Linked DNA regions of Homo sapiens: region 1 is linked to region 2. The links are contacts of gene promoters, found by promoter capture Hi-C in blood cells and fetal thymus (Javierre and others, 2016). All regions are on one chromosome and are shown on one strand. Each heading gives the region's core, a stretch centred on a gene start or on the middle of the fragment in contact. The rest is flanking DNA. Distances are from core to core; before and after follow the strand shown. Region 1 overlaps LOC124904638 (a long non-coding RNA gene). Region 2 holds the start of DNASE2 (deoxyribonuclease 2, lysosomal).

Region 1 (5,874 bases), core at 312-2,811, 1.3 Mb before region 2:
TGATCCACCCACCTTGGCCTTCCAAAGTGCTGGGATTACAGGCGTGAGCCACCGCGCCCGGCCTGTTTTTGTTTTTTTTTTTTTTGAGACAGTTTTATTCTGGTTGCCCAGGCTGGAGTGCAGTGGCGCAATCTTGGCTCACGCAACCTCCGCCTCCCGGGTACAAGCGATTCTCCTGCCTCAGCCTCCCTAGTAGCTGTGATTACAGGCACGCACCACCACGCCCGGCTAATTTTGTATTTTTAGTAGAGACGGGGTTTCTCCATGTTGGCCAGGCTGGTCTCCAATGCCCGATCTCAGGTGATCTGCCCACCTCAGCCTCCCAAAGTTCTGCGATTACAGGCGTGAGTCACCATGCCTGGCCAGTCTCCTGTTTTTTTAAAAACTTATTATTTAGCCGGTGTGGTGTCTCACACCTGTAATCCTGGCACTTTGGGAGGCCGAGGTGAGCGGATCACTTGAGGTCAGGTGTTCCAGACCAGCCTGGGCAACATGGCAAAACCTTGTCTCTACTAAAAAGACAAAAATTAGCTGGAGGTGCTCTCTTGAACCCAGGAGGCAGAGGTTGCAGTGAACTGAGATCATGCCACTGCACTCCAACCCAGGAGGAGGAGGTTGCACTGAGCCAATATCATGCCACTACATTCCAGCCTGGGCGACAGAGCAAGACTCTGTCCCCCCCAAAAAAAAAACAGAAAAAAAAAAAAAGAAAGAAATCTGAAGCAATTATGACCAAATGTTAACATCTGTTTCTTCACGTGGTGGGTACAGGCGTGTTTTGGAAGCTTCTATGCTTCCTGTATTTTGAGATCACACAAAATTATGTTTATTATCTTATTGTGCTACATGATCTTTGTAGAAAAGTTGGTAAATTCTGGAATGCACGAAGAAAAAGATTATAATAGCCAGTAATACCCCTGCCCAGAGAGACAGTATCCATTAATTTTTCTCTGCCTATGTTTGTCTTCGGAAAAATGGGATACTATTGGCACTATTTTATAACTTTTTAATTTGTATTAACACTTTCTATATTTTTTAAATTGAAAAAGCTGGCCAAGCATGGTGGCTCAGGCCTGTAAACCCAGCCAATGTGGGAGGATCGCTTGAGCCCGGGAGTTCAGGAACAGCCTGGGCATCGTGGCGAGACCACATTGCTACAAAAAAAAAAAAAAAAAAAAAAAAAATTAGCCAGGCATGGTGGTGCACACCTGTGGTTCCATCTACTCAGGAAGCTGAGGTGGAGGATCGCTTGAGCCTGGGAGTTTGAGGCTGCAATAAGCTACGAATGCACCACTGACCTTCAGCCTGGGCAACACAGCTAGACTCTTGTCTCAGAGAGAGAGAGAGAGAGAGAGAGAGAGCACAATGAAAAAAATAAACCTGATCTTGCACAGAGCATGTAATAAAACCTGTGCGTTCTTGGCTATCTCTCTCTGGTCTCCTCCAGGGTGCTGAATAAGCTCTTCTCTCTCCATTCACCCAGGAGAACTCTCTTCTGCTGATTTTCTGTGGAGCTAGATCAGGCTGTGACTCAGAATCTCCCTCCACCTCCACCCTTTCCTATTTTCCCAACACCAGTGTCAATCTCAGATGTCAACAACCCCACGAGTGAGTTCCTCCTGTTGCCAATACATCCAGGTCCTGTTCTCCGCTGCTGTCTCTACCCAATCCCTTCCCTTCCTTCCTCCTGCCAATCCTGCTTTCCCTGTTTCTTGCTCCTCTGACCTCCTCCGCATTGCTTGACTGTCTCAGATACACTCTGGCCTCAGGGTCTTGGCACTTTCTGTTCTCCCTGCCTGGAAGGGTCTTCCTTAGTCAGATACTGAGGTCACCCATTGTGTTCAAGTTCCTTTAATTTATCTGAAATGAGTCTGGGCGTGGTGGCTCACGCCTGTAATCCCAGCACTTTGGGAAGCCAAGCCGGGTGGATCACTTGAGGCCAGGAGTTCGAGACCAGCCTGGCCAACATGGTGAAACCCCATCTCTACTAAAAATACAGAAATTAGCTGGGCGTGGTGGCACAAACCTGTGGTCCCAGCTACTCAGGAGGTCGAGGCAGGAGAATTGCTTGAACCTGGGAGGCGGAGGTTGCAGTGAGCCAAGATCGTGCCACTGTACTCTAGCCTGGGTGACAGAGTGAGACTCTGTCTCAAAAAAAAAAAAAAAAAAAGAAAAAGATAATTTATCTGAAATTATCTGAAATGCACCACCCTGCCCCCATCATTGACTCTCCTGTTGCTGTAGTTTTCTCTGCAGCACTTACCAGTGCTTGAGAAAACCACCCACTCATTTATCTTGCTTTCAGTTTCTCTTGCTTTCAGTCTGTCTTCAGTTAATGAAAGCTTTTTTTTTCTTTCTTTTTTCTTTTTCTAAAACAGAGTCACCCAGGCTGGAGACCAGTGATGCGATCACGGCTCACTGCAGACTCGACCTTCTGGGCTCAGGGGATCCTCCCACACCCCTTGGCCTCCTGGGGATTGAGACTACAGGCACACACCACCACACCCAGCTAATTTTTGTATTTTTTGTAGAGAGAGGGATTTGTCACCTTGTCCAGGCTGCTCTTGAACTCCTGAGTTCAAGCAATCCTCCCAACTCAGCCCCTCAAAGTGCTGGGATTACAGGTGTGAACCACTGCCCCTGGCCTGTTTATTTAAAAAATTAACATTCATTCTCAGTTTATTGGCTAAGTTTAGAAGTAGTATCAGAATGTTTAAGAGAACTTACTGTTCTCCTTTTATTTGTATGTTTGCATTGTAGATTTTTAATAACTGATAAGGACTTCTCAAGGTGTTTGCTTGGTGGAGACATTTAAAAAGATTAAAGAATAGGCCAGGTGCAGTGGCTCATGCCTGTAATCCCAGCACTTTGGGAGGCCGAGGCGGGTGGATCAAGAGGTCAGGAGATCGAGACCATCCTGGCTAACATGGTGAAACCCCATCTCTACTATAAATACAAAAAATTACCTGGGTGTGGTGGCACGTGCCTGTAGTCCCAGCTACTCAGGAGGCTGAGGCAGGAGAATCGCTTGAACCCGGGAGGCAGAGGTTGCAGTGAGCTGAGATCGCACCATTGCACTCTAGCCTGGGTGGTAGAGCAAGACTCTGTCTCAAAAAATAATAATAATAAATTAAAAGATTAAAGAATAAGCTGGCACAGTGGCTCACACCTGTCATCCCAACACTTTTTGTAGAGACCTCATCTCTTAAAAATAAAATTAGCTGGGCGTGGTTGTGTGCACCTGTAGCCCAGCTACTCAGGAGGCTGAGGTGGGAGCATTGCTCAGGAGGTCGAGGCTGCAGTGAGCCATGATTGCACCACTGCACTCCAGTCTGGGTGACAGAGCTGATACACTGTCTCTAAAAAATAATAATAATTGACCGGGCGCAGTGGCTCACGCCTGTAATCCCATCACTTTGGGAGGCCGAGGCGGGCGGATCACGAGGTCAGGAGATCGAGAGCAACATGGCTAACACGGTGAAACCCCGTCTCTACTAAAAATACAAAAAAATTAGCTGGGCGTGGTGGTGGGCGCCTGTAGTCCCAGCTACTCGGGAGGCTGAGGCAGGAGAATGGCATGAACCTGGGAGGTGGAGCTTGCAGTGAGCCAAGATCGCGCCACTGCACTCCATCCGGCTTGGGTGACAGAGCGAGACTCCATCTCAAAAAAAAAATTAATAATAATAATTATTATTATAGTAGTAAAAGAGTATAGAATAAAATGCATCACACTTATAAAATGTAAAATGTTAATTTCAATCCACTAAACTTATAAACGGACCCAAATATGCATCCAATGACCTCTTAAAGTGATATTTCTTTTTCTTTTTGTTGAGATGGAGTCTCACTCACTCTGTCACCCAAGCTGGAGCGCAGTGGTGTGATCTTCAGCTCGTCCCAACCTCCGTCTCCCAGGTTCAAGCGATTCTCCTGACCTCAAGTGATCCGTCTGCCTTGGCATCCCAAAGTGCTGGGATTACAGGCCTGAGGCCAGGCCCTGAATTAATTTTTTGATGTTTCACTTTGCCAGGTGTATAAGTAACATGTTAGTTGTGATTGTAACTAAATAAAGGCTTAAGGGAAACCGTGTTTCTAAATTTCTAAATTGACTACACATTTACAAAGGAACCCACAAAGATGGATTTTTGGGCCGGGCGCAGTGGCTCACGCCTGTAATCCCAGCACTTTGGGAGGCTGAGGCAGACAGATTGCCTGAGTTCAGGAGTTCAAGATCAGCCTAGGCAACAAGGTGAAACCCTTTCTCTACTAAAATACAAAAAAATTAGCTGGGCATGGCAGCGAGCACCTGTAATCCCAGCTACTTGGGAGGCTGAGGCCGGAGAATTGCTTGAACCAGGGAGGCAGAGGTTGCAGTGAGTCGAGATCACACCACCGCACTCCAGCCTGGGCAACACAGTGAGACTCGATCTTAAAAAAAAAAAAAAAAGATGGACTTTTTCGGGGCCCCAAGGCTTCAAAATTCAAAATGCTGTCATGAGTTAGTTTGATTTGAGGAACCAAAAATTGGCTTTTGTGGCTGGAGCAGAGTGAGCAAGGGGGAAGTGAATCCGGAAGGTTGAGTCTGCAAGGTCAAGGGCAAGGAACAGAGAAGGGTGTGGGTGGGGCAGGTTGCGTGTGCTCTTGGGGGCTGCAGGGAAGGGGGCTTTTATCTGGGTAAGGTGGGAGCCACAGAGGGTTCTGATCAGAGGGACAGATCTGACTTAGATTTTGCATGATGTCCCCCAGCTGTGGGCTGCGGGGCATGGGCTGCTGAATAGGTGGTTTAGGTGGGCAAAGATGGGTCATGGTGCCCCCTACCCTTTAAAAATTAAAAGACAGGGCCAGGAGCAGTGGCTCACGCCTGTAATCCCAGCACTTTGGGAGGCTGAGGTGGGCGGATCACCTGAGGTCAGGTGTTTGAGACCAGCCTGACCAACAAGGTGAAACCCCATCTCTACTAAAAATACAAAAAAAATTAGCTGGGCGTGGTGGCAGCCACCTGTAATCCCAGCTACTCGGGAGGCTGAGGCAGGAGAATCGCTTGAACCCGGGAAGCAGAGGTTGCAGTGAGCCAAGATCGTGCCACTGCACTCCAGCCTGGGCGACAAGAGCAAGACTGTCTCAAATAATAATAATAGGCCGGGTGTGGTGGCTCACACCTGTAATCCCAGCACTTTGGGAGGTTGAGGTGGGTGGATCACTGGAGCCCAGGAGTTTGAGACAAGCCTGGGTGACACAGTGAGACCCCATCTAAATTATTATTATTATTATTATTTGAGACAGAGTCTTGCTCCATCACCCAGGCTGGAGTGCAGTGGCGCGATCTTGGCTCACTGCAAGCTCCGCCTCCCGGGTTCACGCCATTCTCCTGCCTCAGCCTCCCAAGTAGCTGGGACTACAGGTGCCCGCCACCACGCCCAGCTAATTTTTTGTATTTTTTAGTAGAGACGGGGTTTCACCATGTTAGTAAGGATGGTCTGGATCTCCTGACCTTGTGATCCGCCTGCCTTGGCCTCCCAAGGTGCTGGGATTACAGGCGTGAGCCACCATGCCCAGCCTGAATTTTTTTTCTTAAAGATTAAAAAGGCAGAGCCTCTCTGCTCCTCCCATTTGACAGACAGCCACATCTTTTCATGCAGTGAAAAAGGCATGTCCCCGAGACACCGTGGTGAAAGTGAAGACAGGAGTAAATGGATTTGGCCATATTGGGTGCCTGGTCACCAGGGCACCAGAGCTGCTTTTAACTCTGGCAGAATGGATGTTGTCACCTCAATGACCCCTTCATTGACCTCAACTACATGGTCTACATGTTCCAATATGATTCTACCCACGGCAAGTTCCGCGGCACCATCAAAGCTGAGAAGTGGGCTGGGT
Region 2 (7,019 bases), core at 2,102-4,601:
AGGCACCACCTCTGGCACCCAAATGACTTACAGGTACCACTTCATTCACAATTTTTTAAGTAGATGTCAGTATCCCCATTTTTCAGATGAGTAGACCAAGGCTCAGGTGAAGTTATACATCACACAGCAAAACCCAGGGTTTGAACCCAGGTCTGTTCACTGATCATGTGATTATAGCTCCCAAACAGACCTGGTCTCTACCGCTGACTTGAACTCAGCCATGGCCACACCAGTCACCCTGTCTGCAGAGAAGGAGCTCTCCAACCCTCAACCTTGAGACTCACCATCTCCAAATTTGCTGAACTTGGCAAAGCTCTGGAAAACAGCCCCGGCCTGGGATGTGAGTGTGATGCTGCTGTTCCAGGGTTCTTGGCTAACGTGGTGGCCCTTGACCACATTCTCCAAGTCGGGGAATTCCTGGGCAAAGATCCCTTCCAGCTGGTAGTTATAGACCCAGGGGTAGGTGTAGGTCAGCTGCTTGCCTGGAGGACAAGGGGAGGAGGAAATGCAAGATCGTTCCAGGTTCTGGTCAGTAAACCCAGGACTCATCCTGTGTCCCTGACTCGACTTACCCATCTTCGAGAACTGAGCGAAGGGAAAAGACACACAGAGCAGGGTCTGCCCGTAGGTACAGGCGCTATGAGGCCAGCTGTATGCAGCAGAGGAGGCCGGTGGAGGGAAGTTAGGTACACTGTGGACCAGCCAGAAGCCCCCATCGTGGTCAAGGAGCAGGACACCTGGACCAAAAGAAGGCATTAGGGGAGGTCGGGCGCAGTGGCTCACGCCTGTAATCCCAGCACTTTGGGAGACCGAGACACACAGATCACCTGAGGTCAGGAGTTAGAAATCAGCCTGGCCAACATGGCGAAACCCCATCTCTACTAAAAATACAAAAATTAGCTGAGCGTGGTGGTGGACGCCTGTAATCCCAGCTACTCAGGAGGCTGAGGCAGGAGAATCGCTTGAACCCAGGAGGTGGAGGTTGCAGTGAGCTGAGATCCACCACTGCACTCCAGCCTGGGCCACAGAGCAAAATTTCATCTCAAACATAAGTAAGTAAGTAAGTAAATAAATAAATAAATAAATAAATAAATAAAAATTTAAAAAAAGAAGGCAGGCCCCACGCAGTGTAATCCCAGCACTTTGGGAAGCCGAGGAGGGCGGATCACCTGAGGTCGGGAGTTCAAGACCAGCCTGGCCAACATGGAGAAACCTCATCACTACTAAAAATACAACATTAGCCGGGCATGGTGGTGCATGCCTGTAATCCCAGCTACTCGGGAGGCTGATGCAGGAGAATCACTTGAACCCAGGAGGCGGAGGTTGCAGTGAGCCGAGATTGCACCATTGCACTCCAGCCTGGGTAGCAAGAGCAAAACTCCTTCTCAAAAAAAAAAAAAAAAAAAAGGCAATTAGAGGGTATTGCTCCAGGCCTCCCAGCAAGCTCATCTGCAATCAGGAACACCCTCAGTTTGCAGCGGGGCTTAGAGAGGGTGCCAGCAGTGTTAGAACCACAGCTGAGCTCAGTTTTTGCAGGCATAAATTCTTATAGTCCAGAATAACGCCAAGAGTAATGTAAGGTAGGGAAACAGGCCAGGTGTGGCGGCTCATGCCGGTAATCGCAGCACATTAAGAGGCCAAGGTGGGTGGATTGCTTGAACCAGGACTTAGAGACCAGCCTAGGCAACATGGCAAAAGCCCACTCTACAAAAATACAAAAAGTAGGCCAGGTGTGGTGGCTCACGCCTGTAATCCCAGCACTTTGGGAGGCCAAGGCAGGTGGATCACCTGAGGTCAGGAGTTCAATATCAGCCTGTCCAACCTGGTAAAACCCCATCTCTACTAAAACATACAACATTTAGCTGGGCATGGTGGCGCACACCTGTAATCCCAGCTACTCCAGAGGCTGAGGCAGAAGAATCGCTTGAACTGGGGAGATGGAGATTGCAGTGAGCTGAGATTGCACCACCGAACTCCAGCCTGGGTGATGGAGAGAGAGTGCCGCAAAAAAAAAAAAAAAAAAAAAAAGCCAGGCGTGGTGGGGGGTACCGGCAGGCCCAGTACTTGGGAGGCTGAGGTAGGAGGATCACCTGAGCCCTGGGAGGTCAAGGCTGCAGTGAGCTGTGATACTGCACTCCAGCCTAGGTGACTGGGTGAGACCTTGTCTAAAAGAAAATAAAATAGGGGAAATAGATGCCCAAGGTCTGACAGGGGAGATCTCCCACCCCACTATGGAGGTCAGGGGTTAGCTTGGAAAAATGCATAGGAACTCGGCTGGGCAGGGTGGCTCATTCCTGTAATCCCAGCACTTTGGGAGGCCAAGGCGGGTAGATCACTTGAGGTAGAAACCAGGAGTTCGAGACCAGCCTGGCCAACATGGTGAAACCTCGTCTGTACTAAAAATATGAAAATTAGCCTGGTGTGATGGTGCGCCTTTAATACCAGCTACTTGGGAGGCTGAGACAGGAGAATTGCTTCAACCCCAGAGGCAGAGATTGCAGTGAGCCAAGATTGTGCCACTGCACTCCAGCTTGGGTGACAGAGCGAACTCCCACCGTCTCAAAAACAAAGAAAAAAAAAAGTTGGGGGGAATAGATGCCCAGGGTCTGACAGTGCAGATCTCCCCGACCACCCCATGCACGTCAGGGGTTACCTTGGAAAAATGGGACCCGAGTCTCTCCCCAGCCCCCAATCCAGGCCTCACCCTTCGTGTGCCCACGCATGGAAGAGTCCTGAGCCTTGCTGGGTTGAGGCGGTTGGTCATTGTAGAGCAGGAAGGCGAGCTGCGGGCGGATAAACGGAGGCAACGTGAAATTCCTCCCAGGCAGGGCAGCCCTAGAGTTTCGCCCCTAGTTGGCCCGGGGCCCCCTTCACCTGGCTGGTGTTGCTCCGGTACAGCGGCTGCAGGCTTCGGCCCACGGCCCCCTCCGGGCTGTTGATGAGTGCCCTGCCGTCCCGCCAGCCTCCGGAGCTCTCGTCCAGATACTTGTACTGCAGCCCTCTCTGCGCCGCCTCCCCGGACCCTCTAAGAGCTGGCAGCTTGTAGACCACGAACCTGGAGGTCGGAGAATGCACAGAAATAGGAGAGAGGGAAGAGAAGGCACCCCAGGGTTCCCCGAGGAGGTAGCCATCCCGGTTGAGTGACCGCAGCCGGACCCCGGGGCGATGGTAGGCCCCCCGCTGCGCACTCACCAGTCTACAGGCTGCCCGGAGTCCCCGTAGCAGGTCAGGGCCCCGGCGGGGACGCACAGCAGCGCTGCCAGCAGCAGCGGGATCATAGCTGCTATGGGGCTGAGATCCAGGAATCTGTGTCGGGACTGCGGGGCGCTGGGTTACATCAGAGGCCAGGACTGGCACCTGGCGCCTTTCACTTCCCTAAACTTGCCTGGGAACCGGGGCGGGGACATCACGAGGGTACAGACTCCTCCCCCGAGACGCGATGCTGCGTTTTGGAGAGGCAAAAGGCAACGCTGAGTCTGCCCAGACCACGCCCACGACGGGCCCGGCGCTCCAGCGTCTCCTGGAGCCTGGCCACCGTTCCTTTTCGTGGTAGCTAATCCCAGCCCACGCTCTTCTGTCTGACCCAACTCCCGCCCGGGTTTCTGGATCAGGCACAAGTTTGTATTTTATTTTTTATTCCAGCCCTACAACCTGGGTCCAACTCTTGGGACCTTTGTTCTTCCTCTTTTTTTTTTTTTTTTTTTTTTTTTTTTTTTGAGACGGAGTTTCACTCTTGTCGCCCAGGCTGGAGTGCAATGGCACGATCTCGGTTCACTGCAACCTCCGCCTTCCTGATTAAAGCGATTATCCTGCCTCAGCCTCCCGAGTAGCTGGGATTACAGGCGCCCGACACCACGCCCGGCTAATTTTTGTAGTTTTAGTAGAGACGGGGTTTTTCCATGTTGACTAGGCTGGTCTCGAACTCCTGACCTCGTGATCCACCAGCCTCGGCCCCCGAAAGTGCCAAGATTGCAGAAGTGAGCCACTGCGCCCCTTAAGAAGCATTTGTGTTCCAGTGTATCTTCCCCTTTTTCTTTCTTTTTTTTTTTCCTTCCTTTTTTTTTTTTTTTTTTCCCGGACAATATCTCGCTCTGTTGCCCAGGCCGGAGTGCAGTGGCGCAATCTTGGCTCACTGCAACCTCTGCCTCCCCAGCTCAAGTGATCCTCTCACCTCAGCCTCCCGAGTAGCTGGGATCACGGGCACATGCCACTATGCCCAGCTAATTTTTGTAGTTTTTTTTTTGAAACACGGTTTCACCATGTGGCTCAGGCTGAACTCCTGAGCTCAAGGGATCCACCTGTCTTGCCTCCCAAAGTGCTGGGATTACAGGCATGTAATCCACGCCACCCAGACTCTCCTTTTTCATTCTGCACGTTTTCTCCAGGATCCCCTGAGCTAGCAAAGAGGTGACTGTATGTTTGTTTTTTGTCGTTTTGAGACAGGATAATGGTTTCTCACCCAGGCTAGAATGCAGTGACTCCATCACAGTTCACTGCAGCCTCAACCTACTGGGCTCAAGAGATCTTCCCAGGTAGCTGGTACTACAGGCCTGTGCCACCACACCCAGATAATTGTTCATTGCAGAGATGAGGGTCTCACTATGTTGCCCAGGCTGCTCTGGAACTCCGGGGTTCAAGTGATTCTCCCACCTCAGCCTCAAAGGATCATGGCAGGGCAAAGGGCTATGGGAATCTGAGTACTGGCTTGAAACTGCCTTTGCAAAAATTATGACAGAAAATTATGTCAGTGAAAGAGCTCTGACCTAACCAACTCCATCTTGCCTTTAATCTCCAAACTGCCCTTGCTTGGTCATTCCTGGAGTGGGGTCAAGCTAACTTTTTTTTTTTTTTTGACACGTTGTCTCACTCTGTCGCCCAGGCTGGAGTCCAGTGGTGTGATCTCAGCTCACTGCAACATCCGCCTCCTAGGTTCAAGCAATCCTCCTGCCTCAGCTTCCTGAGTAGCTGGGATTACAGGCATGCGCCACATGCCCAGCTAATTTTTGTATTTTTGGTAGAGACTGGGTTTCACCATTTTTGGTAGAGATGGGGTTTCACCTTGGGGCTCAGGCTGGTGTCGAACTCCTGGGCTCAAGTGATCTGCCCGCCTCAGCCTGCCAAATTGCTGGGATTAAAGAGGGAGCCACCATGCCTGGCCCCAAGCTAATTTTGGGAGGAATTTAGTTTATAGCTTAAATGATAATAGCCCTTCCCCAAACTAAACTGCCTTTGTAGAAATAATGAAAGGGCACTAGGTTAGGAGGATGAGAGGAGCCTGAATTCTGCTAAACTGTAGGTGTAGTAGTTAAATTATGACCAGCCATTTTTCCGGCCGGGTGCGGTGCCTCACGCCTGTAATCCCAGCACTTTGAGAGGCCGAGGCTGGCAGATTACCTGAGGTCAGGATTTCGAAACCAGCCTGGCCAGCATTTCGAAACCCCATCTCTTCTAAAAATACAAAAATTAGCCCGGCATGGTGGCATGTGCCTGTAATCCTAGCTACCTGGTAGGCTGACACAGGAGAATCACTTGAACCCAGGAGGCAGAGGTTGCAGTGAGCCAAGATGGAACAACTGCACTCCAGCCTGGGCAAGAGCAAGACTCCATCTCAAAAACAAAAACAAAGATGGCCAGCCATTATTCTGGAGGTCACAAGGTTTGCAACTTCCCCAGTTATTTCTGCAAATAACATGACTATTGCAAAACCTAACGCTGGCCTTTTTAGATGTCTTTTTAGGCTTTTTGCATATCTGACAACTGGATGACTCCACCCAGACTAGCGACTCTATGGTCCCCACCCAGAAGCTGACTCAGCAACTGTTTTCCACAGCTCCAGGATTGCAGCAAGGCACCCATTCCCTAGCCCTCCTGCCCACCAAACTGTTCTTGAATAACCCTAGCCTCTGAATTTTCAGGGAGGCTGATTCAAGTAATAAAACTCCCATCTCCCATTTAGCTGGATGTATGTGGATTAAACTCTCTCTATTGCAATCCCTCTGTCTCGATAAATTGGCTCTATCTGGACAGTGGGCAAGATGAACCCCCTGGGCAGTCATAGGCTGTGAACTCTTAAATCCAGGGAGATGTTTGCTGTCAATGTCCGCAGGGTTCAAGGCAGAAGACAAGGACAGTGTAGCCTGAACTGGGTGGGAAAAGAGAGGACAGCAAGGCCTCCAGTGCCCAAGGGGGCTTGTTGGAGTTGAGGGGTGTCACTGTAGTTTAGGAGATGAGGGTGTGTAAGGCCCTCTAATATGACCTCTAGGTTTACAGCCTCCTGCCATCTTCCAGCCTCCAAAACCCAAAAATTCAGGCCAACGCTGAAGCTTTATCTGGGAGGGGCATTTTTATAGGACCCATAACCATTGACAGTTAATATCAGCCACAATAAGGGACCTTCAGGAGCCGCTTTCTAGACCCAGGGTCTCTGGGAAGCCTCATCCCACACCCTCTCCTGCTGTCCAGGGCCATCTGGGAGCTGGTCTGAGTGTCCACTGAGTCCGTTTATTTGGCGGTCTGTCTCACTGGGTTTGCACGACAGTTTGGACATCTCTGTGTGGCTCCCTGTGGCTGAAGGCTTGTCGGATTTTCCGTAAGAGGCTCCCCCAGGGCTGTCTATGGGTCCGTGTTTGATATTTGGGTGGATCTTTGGGAACGCGAGTCCAGGAGAGGGTCCATTCGTGGGAAAACCACCCAGCATTGTGTCACGCGCGTCCGTGTGAAGAGACCACCAAACAGGCTTCTTGTCCCATCCCCAGTCACTAGGAGAGTCCAAGTGCCAGGGCAGGGCTCAAAGGTGGCGCTTCATGTGCAAGGCCAGGTGGTCAGAGCGCGAAAAAGCACGTGGGCAGAGCTGGCAGCGGAAGGGGCGCTGCCCCGTGTGTTTCCGGTAGTGGCGGGTCAGCTCGTCCGAGCGCGCGAATCTCCAGCCGCAGCCTTCCCACGTGCAGGCGTATGGCTTCTCCCCTAGGGGACAAGGAAGCCATAAGCGCCACTGTCTGCCCAGTCATGTCCCCGGGTCC

Evidence for each region. The method cuts DNA at HindIII sites, captures the fragments that hold promoters and counts their contacts. A CHiCAGO score of 5 or more calls a contact.
Region 1: a contact is called between a fragment that was not itself captured here and the fragment with the promoter of DNASE2 in region 2, in 1 of 17 cell types (M0 macrophages). The highest score is 5.5, in M0 macrophages.

The regions. Positions count from the first base shown.
Region 1 is chr19:11,579,581-11,585,454 of GRCh38, forward strand. It overlaps LOC124904638 (a long non-coding RNA gene), which reads left to right. Exons shown (of 2, transcript XR_007067140.1): 2 at 3,837-4,084. It also overlaps the pseudogene GAPDHP76. Among named protein-coding and RNA genes, the nearest start is that of ACP5, 4.9 kb to the left of the region's middle. RefSeq lists enhancers at 2,204-2,403, 4,305-4,444, 4,455-4,514 and a silencer at 2,539-2,704. The HindIII fragment of the contact is 1,557 bases long and covers 784-2,340 here.
Region 2 is chr19:12,878,098-12,885,116 of GRCh38, forward strand. It overlaps DNASE2 (deoxyribonuclease 2, lysosomal), which reads right to left and starts at 3,352. Exons shown (of 6, transcript NM_001375.3): 1 at 3,193-3,352; 2 at 2,875-3,055; 3 at 2,705-2,783; 4 at 573-737; 5 at 285-482. The coding sequence starts at 3,278. It overlaps KLF1 (KLF transcription factor 1), which reads right to left. Exons shown (of 3, transcript NM_006563.5): 3 at 6,325-6,963. The coding sequence ends at 6,788. RefSeq lists enhancers at 2,883-3,510, 3,170-3,279, 5,704-5,965, 6,838-7,019 and cis regulatory regions at 3,174-3,734, 4,474-4,974, 5,514-6,034, 6,914-7,019. The HindIII fragment of the contact is 8,211 bases long and covers 1-6,321 here.